Linked DNA regions of Homo sapiens: region 2 is linked to region 1. Evidence: promoter capture Hi-C in human tissues and cell types (Jung and others, 2019). All regions are on one chromosome and are shown on one strand. The core of a region is centred on a gene start or on the middle of the fragment in contact, and the rest is flanking DNA. Distances in the headings are between cores, read along the strand shown.

What was found. Contacts are between HindIII fragments. The study calls those that stand out against the background at their distance.
Region 2: a contact is called between a fragment that was not itself captured here and the fragment with the promoter of MRPS25 in region 1, in 1 of the 25 tissues and cell types used here (dorsolateral prefrontal cortex).

What each region holds. Positions count from the first base shown.
Region 1 is chr3:15,062,739-15,068,127 of GRCh38, forward strand. MRPS25 (mitochondrial ribosomal protein S25) reads right to left here and starts at 2,577. Exons shown (of 4, transcript NM_022497.5): 1 at 2,323-2,577. The coding sequence starts at 2,456. RefSeq lists an enhancer at 2,557-2,736. The HindIII fragment of the contact is 13,424 bases long and covers 1-5,389 here.
Region 2 is chr3:14,653,357-14,658,542 of GRCh38, forward strand. It overlaps CCDC174 (coiled-coil domain containing 174), which reads left to right. Exons shown (of 11, transcript NM_016474.5): 2 at 1,070-1,174; 3 at 2,173-2,273. Among named protein-coding and RNA genes, the nearest start is that of CCDC174, 4.2 kb to the left of the region's middle. The HindIII fragment of the contact is 6,308 bases long and covers 173-5,186 here.

The DNA.
Region 1 (5,389 bases), core at 1,327-3,826:
CCTTGGGATCCTGTTGATCTGTGACCTTACCCCCAACCCTGTGCTCTCTGAAACATGTGCTGTGTCCACTCAGGGTTAAATGGATTAAGGGCGGTACAAGATGTGCTTTGTTAAACAGATGCTTGAAAGCAGCATGCTCGTTAAGAGTCATCACCACTCCCTAATCTCAAGTACCCAGGGACACAAACACTCTGCCTAGGAAAACCAGAGACCTTTGTTCACTTGTTTATCTGCTGACCTTCCCTCCACTATTGTCCTATGACCCTGCCAAATCCCCCTCTGCGAGAAACACCCAAGAATGATCAATTGAAAAAAAAAAAAAAAGAAAGTTAATAATGGCAGGAACCTTGAGTTGAGCAACTGCTGTATATGCCAGACACTTTGCTAGGCACCTGACTCTCCAACCCCAGAAGGTGGGGTTTTACAATTTAAGGAAACTAAGGTCAGAAGTTAAGTAAACTGCCCCAGGTCTAACTGGGCTGATTAGTCTGGCCTTCGATCACACTGTTCTGTCACCATCAAATTCACCCTGAGGCTTGGGGACCACTTGTTCAGGGTAGAACACCTGGCAGAGGTGAGTAAGGACTTGGCCCTCAAATACTAAATAAGGCACCTTCCCATTGCCCCCAGCAGGTACCCAAAGACTGGCTGGACCGGTCGCAGGCACTTGGGATGGAGGTAGGTCCCAGTGGGGCAGCTGAAGGGCTGAGGGCACATGAACAAACAAGGGCTGGGGATTGGGGGAGGACTGCGGCTAGCCAGAGCAAGGCAGACAGACTCCAACCCACGGGTACAAGATCACAGAGGGCACAGGTGGCACAGGCCAGCCCCTACCACCAGGAACAAAGAAACAGTGAATGGCTGTTTGTATCCCATTTACCTAGAGGACATTAAAATATCTGAGAATGTAAGTAAGAGGCTCACAGGCTTATTTTGATTGGCTGGCCATTTAAAAGCCAGAGATTTACATAAAAACCTAGATTTCAGCTTCTTGACAAATGAGAAATTCTCCACGGAGCCCACAATGCCAAACAGTGAAGGGCCCTCTGGATAGGGCATGTGCTCTCCAGCTCGCTGCGGGCCGCACCGAGACCCCCACCCCTTCCCATTATCTGCCTGGCAGTTGCCCGGGGACAAAGGTGTGCACAGTTGTGCAGTAGGTTATGAAGGAGTATCTGGGTGCCCATACACCCTAAGACCAAGACCAAGTCTTCCAGGAAGCCATCAAGCCAGCTGATTCCAGGCAAGCAGGTCCAAGTTATCAGATTCACCTGCGCAGAGCAAATGGCTAGGAAGCGGCTTCCGGATCTCTTGAAGGGCCATGCAGTGAAGGTCCGTCACCAAGGGGACCATGCCCCACAAGAAGTTGCTCCCCGCCCCCACGCCTCATTTTGATCCAACATACACCCAAGTCCCAAAGTTTCTGCGGGCTAAGGCTGCCTCCTCCATCACTGCTGAACTCCCAGCACACAGCACACAGCCTAGCACTCAGAGTGTACTCAATAAATGTAGACTTCATACCTGCAGAGCCTAAGGCACTGCTTAGGGCTGCCTCAGGGTCAATCCAAACCTTTCACTTGCCAACTGCCATTCAATGAGTCCCTACTCTGCTCCAAGCTGAAAGACATCCTAGGCGTTCCCTACAGTTCCTTCTAGTCGGGGTAGGGTCTGCCGCTGCACAGCTGACATAATTAATCACTTCCTTCCAAACCTTGAGTCCCGAAGGAAGCGGCCACACTGCCCGGCTCACCGCTCACCGGCTGGCATGGTGTCTCGTGGAGCTGCAAGTTACTTAACCTCTCTGTGCGCTTCCCCAGCCTTAGAGTGGGGATAAGCTGGGGTTTCTCTAGGCATCAGAAAAAAGAAAGCGCGAGAAGCATTCAGAACTGTGCGAGATATGATCAGTGTTCGCCGCTGTTATTTCTCTCATTTTATCCTCAGATTCGTCCTGGGGTGTCACCCCCGTCACCCCGAAAGGATCTGCGGCTGCCCCTCCCCAGCGCTTGCCTTGCTGGCCAGAGGGGCCAAGGGAACTGGTGGCCTCCCTCGGGTCAGCCTCGCCCACCGCGCCGGAGGAAGGAGATCCAGGAGTGGGGTTCTTGTCCTCCGCCCCCCAAACCTCGTCACGACTGCAGCCGGCCCGGCGGGGGCCCCGCCGTCCGCCTCAGTCTGGACCTCTGTAAAATGGGGGTAACAGCGCCGACCTGGGGGGCCCGCCCCGGGGATGAACGGCCGCCCAGAGCGACTCGGGACCTCACGTTACCAGCAGGCTGGCACGACTAGCAGGTTACGGCTCGCCAGGCGGCCGGGGCTGCGACTGACCTGGCGCCCTCGCCCAGCTCCCCATGCGTGTTGTAATTCACTGTCATGACCTTCACGGAGTCCTTGAACACCACGTTCCCCTGGCTCAGATATTGCAGGGTGCGGCGGATGGGGAAGCGGCCCTTCATGGGCATGGCGGCAACGGTGGCGGGGCCGACCCCACGGGCCGCGAGCCGAGCAGCGACGAGAAAGGACTAGCTAGCACCCGCGCGGATCTCACGCGGCTTCTCCCCAGAGCCAGGTTCCACTTCCCGCGCAGACGCACAGGAGACGCTTCCCGGCGGGCAGCGCACGCCGCGGAGCACTCTGGGACTTGTAGGCGGCCTTCGACCCGGCGCGGCGAGAACCGGTGTGTGCAGCTTCGCTTTAGGACGCCTTCCCCTTGGAAGGTTTAGGTTGTCGCGTCCTGTAAATTAGTCATTTCCCCATCCACCCACGGGAAAATATTTTTACATAGGCTAAAAGTCAGACATTGCAATAAGAAATAATCAGGAAAGCTCAGTTTGGATACCAAGTCAGCTGATAACGTCCTATTGAACGTATTGTCCATTTTTCTCCCCAAACATCTCCAGTTTTATCATGAAGAGTTCAAACTGCACTTTCTGACGTTGACTTAAACTTCTTAGCAAAAGAAAAAAAGATGGTTTGGGATCAATTCCTTCCTAAATTCAGCCACTTAACTCAGGACCTCAATTTTTTCGTAAACAAACTATGGGTGAGATGTATTTCTAGGGCCAGGCGCGGTGGCTCCCGCCTGTAAACCCAGCCTTTGGGGAAGCCGAGGCGGAAGGATCGCTTGAGGTCAGGAATTCGAGACCAGCCTGCCCAACATGGCGAAACCCCGTCTCTACTGAAAATACAAAAATTAGCCTGGTGTGGTGGCAGCACCTGTGGTCCCAGCTACTCAGAAGACTGAGGTGGGAGGATCGCTCGAACCCGGGAAGTTGCAGTGAGCCGAGATCGCGCCACTGCACTCCAGCCTGGGCGACAGAGCAAGACTCCCTCTCAAAAAAAAAAAAGATACATTTCTGAAGTACTCTTGATCTGAAAGGTATTTCTCCTTCTCTTTTGAAGAGTGATTTTGCCAGATTTAGAATTCTAGGTTAGTGTTTTTCCTTTCCCTCCCTCCCTTCTGGAGTGCAATGGTGCTATCTTGGCTCACCGCAACCTCCGCCTCCCAGGTTCAAGTGATTCTCCTGCCTCAGCCTCCCGAGTAGCCGGACTTACAGGCATGCGCCACTACACCCAGCTAATTTTGTATTGTCAGTAGAGACGGGGATTCTCCATGTTGGTCAGGCTGGTATCAAACTCCTGACCTCAGATGATCCGCCCGTCTCAGCTTCCCAAAGTGCTGGGATTACAGGCGTGAGCCACTGCGCCTGGCCCTGGTGTTTTTCTTTCAACAATTTAAATAGTTCACTCCACTCTTTTTTTGCTTGCATGGTTTCAAACAAGTAATTAAATGCAATTACATTTATAGGTATGATGGCTTTTTCCTTTAGCTTCTTTCAAATTTTCTCTTGGTGTTTGGTTTACGGGGTTAGAATAAGGTAATGCAGATCTGTAGATGTTTTGTATTTGTCCTGCTTGGAGTCCTCTGAGCCTCCTGGATCTGTGATTTCATGTCTGTCATTAATTTTGTAAAGTTCTTAGCCATTTATTAGTTCAGGTATTTATTCTTCACTCTTTTCTCTTTCTAGTATTCAAGTTAAATGCATTTTATGTCTTCTGGAATTGCCTCATAGTTCTCGAATGTTCTGGCGGGGTGATGGAGGTTCTCTTTGCATTTTAGTGGGGAAGTTTCTGTTGACCTATCTTCAAATTCATTTAATCTTTGGTTATGGACAGTCTACTGATAAGCCCATTAAGGCATTTTTCATTTAAGGTTTTAACTTCTAGCACTTCCTTTTGATTCTTAGGGTGTTTGTTTGTTTGTTTTGAGACAAAGTCTCTGTCACCCAGCCTGGAGTGCACTGGTGCAATCTCTGCTCACTGCAACCTCTACCTCCTGGGCTCAAGCAATTCTCCCACCTCTGCCACTTAGCTGGGACTACAGGTGCACACCACCATGCCTGGCTAATTTTTTTTTTTTTTTTTTTTGAGACGAAGTCTCGCTCTGTCACCCAGGCTGGAGTGCAATGGCACTATCTTGGCTCACTGCAACCTCTGCCTCCCAGGTTCAAATGATTCTCCTGCCTCAGCCTCCCAAGTGGCTGAGATTACAGGTGCCCACCACCACACCCAGCTAGTTTTTGTATTTTTAGTAGAGACAGGGTTTCACCATGTTGGCCAGGCTGGTCTTGAACTCCTGACCTCGTGATCCACCCGCATTGGCCTCCCAAAGTGCTGTGATTACAGTCATGAGCCACTGTGCCCAGTCTAATTTTTGTATTTTTAGTAGAGATGGGGTTTCACCTTGTTGGCCTGGCTGGTCTCAAACTCCTGACCTCAAGTGATCTGCCTGCCTCAGCCTCCCAAACTGCTGGGATTACAAGTGTGAACCACCACACCTCGCATGATTCTTAGTTTTCTTATGTCTGTTTACATTACCCATCTGTTCTTGTATGTTGTTTACTTTTACCATTAGACCCCTTAACAGACCACATTTTAAATTTCTTGTCTGATAATTCCAATATCTGAGTGTGATTCTGATGTTTGCTTTGTTTCATCTGATTGTTGGGTTTATTTTTTTCCTTGCCTTTTAGCATGCTTATAATTTTTTTGTTGAAGGTAGAATATCCACTCTATTGGGCCATAGGAACTGGGGTAAATAAGCCTCTAGAATGAGAACTTATGTTAATCTGGCTCAGAGTTGAGAGCTGTGTTTAATGTTTGCCATAGCTGTAGGTGTCAGAGGCTTCCAGTTCCTCTAGTGTCTTTGTGTTTATCTCCTCTTGCCTTTGGGCTTCCCTCGATATTCCTCCTGAGAGAGTCCGTGTCTTGCAGCTCTTCCAGGTATAATTCACTGTTACTATCCTGGAGTCCTGTTGATGTGGTGGAAAAACATGGGGGAGGTGAAGCATTCTATAATCTTACGATTAAATCTCAGCATTTTAGTGGGCTTGTG
Region 2 (5,186 bases), core at 2,077-4,576, 410 kb before region 1:
TTGTTTTTAAAAATTTCCAGTATTAGGGTCTGCAGTGAAACTGCCCTTTGCATTATTAAATGGTTACCTTTTAAATCGATTTCTTCCAAAACGGAAATTGAACCCAGCCATTTTTATCTTCCTTAACAAATAAAGTGATTTTTTTAAGTATCTGATGATTAAGACAGTGATGAAGTATCTGATTTACAAATGCCCATCCATATAAGCAGCTGTACCTGGACCATTAAAAAGGAAACTGTTGTTATATCCTTTTTTGCAGAGTAGGCAGGGGTAATTAATGTAGCTGAGGGAAAGGTACTAATATTCACCCAACTGCCCCACTCCCTATGCCTTGGCCTTCTTTCCTGTTCTTGAACCGTGTGATTCAGCCAAGCTTACGGTTTTTGAAATGGATTAAGTCAAACGTGGAGCTGTTATAATTCACCCAGTCTATTTTATTTCTAGCTGTTGAAATAATGTGTCTTTAAAGGCTCTGCTCTAAGCTTTCTCTGATCACTCTGCTCAGAAGGAAATGCTCTGTTATCTGAACTTATGTGCTACTTTCTTCCACTCTAGAGTCATTTGTTTTATTTTGTTGGTAGTATAAATTACTTTCCTTGTTACATTGTAGGCTCTTTGAGGCAGAGAGTATGTCTAATTCATGTTTATGTTCTGCTCTTCAGCGTTATTTCTACAGCATTTCACTGTAGAAATAAGTTGTGATGATGAAATGAGTGCAGTGCTAGTCAGAGAGAAGGTGCTTAATAATGCAAGTTTAATCTGAAACTAAAAGATGCAGACTTTATTAATTTATTTTGCTTTATCACTTTCTCCTTGCCTAAGGAAAGCCTCGAGTGTTGAAAGTCAGAGTAAAAATGCATTTGCAGCAGAGGTAGAATGAAACATGACTTAGCTTAATTTGTGTACTGGATTCTACATTTAAACATTTAGTTACTTAAACATTTAGTTTTTTAGCCATATTTGTCCATTTAGCGGAACTTGAAATATTCCTTTGGAAATTATAATAATTTAGCAATCCAGTCACCTGCAGGAATTTAATATTTTTGTTTACTTACTGCTTTCATTCTAGTTGGTAGATCTTAAGGCTGAACTCTTCCGAAAGCAAGAAGAATTCAAACAAGAAAAACTTCTAAAAGATTCTGGAGTTTTTGGAAAACCAAAAACAACTAACAAGGTAAAAAATAAGATCTAATTATCTCCATTGGTTCCAAACATGGGAGAATTATACCATATTTAAGTGTTTTAAAATTGTCAGTGGTATCTGTACACATAAATGTTAAGGAAAAATCTCTATCTTGTATTTAACATCTGCATGAAATGTTATTAAAATAGAAATTAGTAAGATTATATAAAAGTACATAGTAATGTGCTAATTCTTTAGCACTTCTTTTGGAAAAATGTGGATTGTTTACATTTCATAAACAGATGGAAGGTTATCTGGTTCTATAAGTGTTAGGTATCCAAATAGAGATAAACAATTAGATAATATAGGAATATAGCGGAAAATATCAGGGTGTATAAGAGCTGTGAATTTTTCCAGTTTTATAGGTAATAGTGTCTACTATTTGTATTACTAATTCTCTGTAATATGTACATTTTCATTAATCTTGATTTAGGTTGTAATCATTCAGGAGATAAAAGATAGTAGGAAGTGATTCTGCACTCAGGAAGCTCTTTAGGCTGGGCGTGGTTCCCACGCCTCTAATCCCATCTCTTTGGAAGGCCGAGGCAGGCAGATCACTTGACCCCAGGAGTTCGAGACCCGCCTGAGCAACATGGCAAAACCCCGTCTCTACAAAAAAAAATTAGTCAGGCATGGTGGTGCGCACCTGTATTCCCAGCTACTTGGGAAGCTGAGGTGGGAGGATCACTTGAGCCCAGGATGTTGAGGCTGCAGTGAGCTGAGATCGCACCACCACACTCCAGCCTGGGTGACAGAGTGAGATCCTGTCTCAAAGAAAAAAAAAAAAGTTATTTATATAATTGAGGGCTCTTTTTTTAGCTCCTGCTTGCCATGTATAGTCAGTATCTTTGTAGGACACAGCTTATCTAGTTATCTCCATTGATTCATAAGAACTCATGATCTCCTTTGTTTTTTTTTTTCCTGATGCACAAGTAGAGATTTTTTGGCAATCATGTGGTTCTGTTTTGTCTTCTAAAATTATTCTCCAGAAACCAAGTATCTGGAGCAAACAGAATGTAGGCGTTTCAAATCGAGCTGAGAAGGATGCTGAACAGAAGATTGAAGAACAGAAGACTTTAGACAAAGCAAGGTAAAGTTATAAGCTCTGGTAAATATAGTTAGCTTTGAGGCTACCCAGGCAGAGAAATGGAAGTTCAAATTTTGTCCTTTTTGATTTACAAATTTTATTTTTAACATCCTTCTAGCCCAATGCTCTAAGTACTCTAAAAATAATATAATTTGCAGATATATCTGTAGTCTTATAAAAAGGTAAAACATAGTCACAGTTTATAAGATGAAACATTCTTGCTGTCAGCCTTTGTTAGACACTAAGATTATCAATACATTTTTAAGAGGTTTTCCCATGGTGTGGGCTAGGTGGGATGACACTAGAATTTAGAAACCCTAAACTTCCCCCCCACCTTTTATTTTGAAAAACTTCAAGGGTACATAGAACATTCTAATATTCTTCACCTAAATTCCCCAGTTAACATCTTGTCACATGTGCTTTCCCTCTCTCTCTCTTACACACACACACGCGTGTGTAGAGAGACTTTAAGCTTCATACTTTCCCTGTAAGTCGTTCAGCCTATATCTTCTGAGAACAAGGACATTTTCCTACATAACCACAATACCGCTATCAAACCCAAGAAATTTAACACTGATAAATTAGTATTATCTATTTTGTGGTCCATATTCAGATTTCACCAGTTATCCCAGTACAATTATGTATTTTATAGATTTAAAAAAAAATCCAGGATTCAAAGATTACCCATTGTTTGTAGTTGTCAAATCTGTTTAGTCTTCTTTAATCTAGAACTGTTCCCTTGCCTTTTGGTTGTCTGTTATGCCATTAACGTTTTTAAAGGGTCCAGGCCAGTTATTTCTGCAGTGTCCCACAACCAATTAGAGTCGTATGAAATGTTTTTGGTAAGAATACTATGTGGGCAGTGGTGTGTCCTTCCCATTGAATCACATCAGGAGGCTCATAAGGTCAGTTTGAGTCGTTATTGGTGTTGATAGGTTTGATTACTTGGTTAAGGTATATATGCTTGGTTTCACCACTGTAAAGGTGCCTCCCCAATTTGTAATTAATAGTAATCTGAAGTGGGAAATTTGGAGACTGTGTGAATATCCTCTTCACCAACTCATTTCCATGCAATGATTTGTTATCATTGATGAATCTTGATAGTTATCAGTTATCACATTGCTGGTTTCAGAATGATGATTTTTCTAATTCTGTCATTCCATCTTTATTATTTTTCTAAAGAAAAGACAGCATCACCCTCAGAGAGAATCCCAAGTTTCAATGTTTGGCATGACTGCTACATGTGCTTTTGGATATATGGAATAATAAAATTCTGTGGTCCCAAACAGTAGTTGCCAAGGTTGCTCAGCAATCTTGGGTCTGAAGATAGAAGGCAGAATATTAGCCCATTTGGGGACATTTTCTTAGCATTTGACCTGTCCCCAACAGACCTCAGGCTTTACTTAAAGATATGATCAGTTTTGAGACATTTCCCACTCTTGGACATATTCTCAGAATTTTAATTTTGTCCAAAGTTACCATGATCTTTTATTATTTTGCTCTGTGTATCAAGAGTTTTTCTTGGCACTTTGCTGTGCTTTTTCTATGCAGTAACTTTTATGAAGCACTTTGGTTTTGCTGTGTTGTGGGAGTCAAGACAACTGCAGGATGTCTGCCTCCCTCCAGAGCTCAGAACACGCAAGCACAGTCCCAGGCTTTTCTGAGGTAGAAGGCCTTGGGCAAGTTAGTTATCTGTTAAGACTCTTTCTTTATCTATGAAGTGAGGTGGTTAATACTTAGGTTATGAAGTCCTTCAGGGAATTAAAGGAGATAAATAGTGTCTGGCACTTAGAGGTTGCAGGCAGTGTCCCTGCTCTCATGCTCTGAATCCCATCTTTCTAACTCAACAGAAGAAACTGTTCTTTAAAGTCACTAGTGACATCCTCATCCACTAAATCCAGCGGCCGTTTCCCTGACACCTTCCTTGATCTCAATTATCCATTTGTAGTCTGTTCCTAACCCCTGAAAACTGTTGCTACACTGCACCAAGTTTCATATCCTTTCTCACGTGCTCTCATCCCTGCCTGTCTCTGTCTCTATTTTGCACCATTCTCTATTTTGCTCAGCACCCTCTGCTCTACTGGTCTCTCTTGAAAATGTCAAGCTCATCCTCACTTAATCTTTCCTTTTTCTGACCTGCCTTCCCTGCCCCCAGATCCTCCTGTGGTTGGCTGCTTCTTGCTGTGCAAGCCATGGCTCCGTTTTCATGTTCAGAGAGGTTTCCCCTGACTGCCCTCTCTCAGTTAGTGTCCTGCCCACTCACTCTAACCTGACACTTGTTGCTTTGTGTTCTGTTTGACTTTTAAATTTTTTCTAGTTTTCTTTTCATTAAAACAGTAAGATCCTCTGATGACCAGCTAGTTACAGTAAGAGCCCTCCAAAATAGGGGTCTTAGAAGCCTGATATGAGTGAGCCGGTCCACCATGCACTGCATTACTGCATGTCAAGGGGCCTCTCTGCTGGCATGCGTTTCTTCCCCTCACAGCTCTTCTCACAGTCTCAGGTCCTCCTTTTCATTCCTTTCTTTATTGTCCTTCTCCATCTCTAGAATGGGAACTCCCAGGAAGCTGGGACTTTTTCTTGTTCCTGTGAGTCCTCAGTGCCTAAAACAGTGCTTGGCAGGTAGGAGGTGTGCAATAAGTACTTGGTGAATGGATGTGTAAAATAAAAGAGGAATGTTTCTGACATTGTGATTAAGAGTGGTCATTCACAAGAGAACTCGCAGATCATCCACAAGAGAACTCTTTGGGGCTTCTCTTTACCATCATTAAGTATTTCCAGAATAAAGAATTGCTTACCCTCTCATGGTCTGTACCACTGAAAAATACATGTCATCAGAATTACTGTGAGCAGAGAGGCTGCTTTGTTGGAATGTTGACATTTGTTTTAAGTTGGCAGTTAAATTAAGTTGTTGGA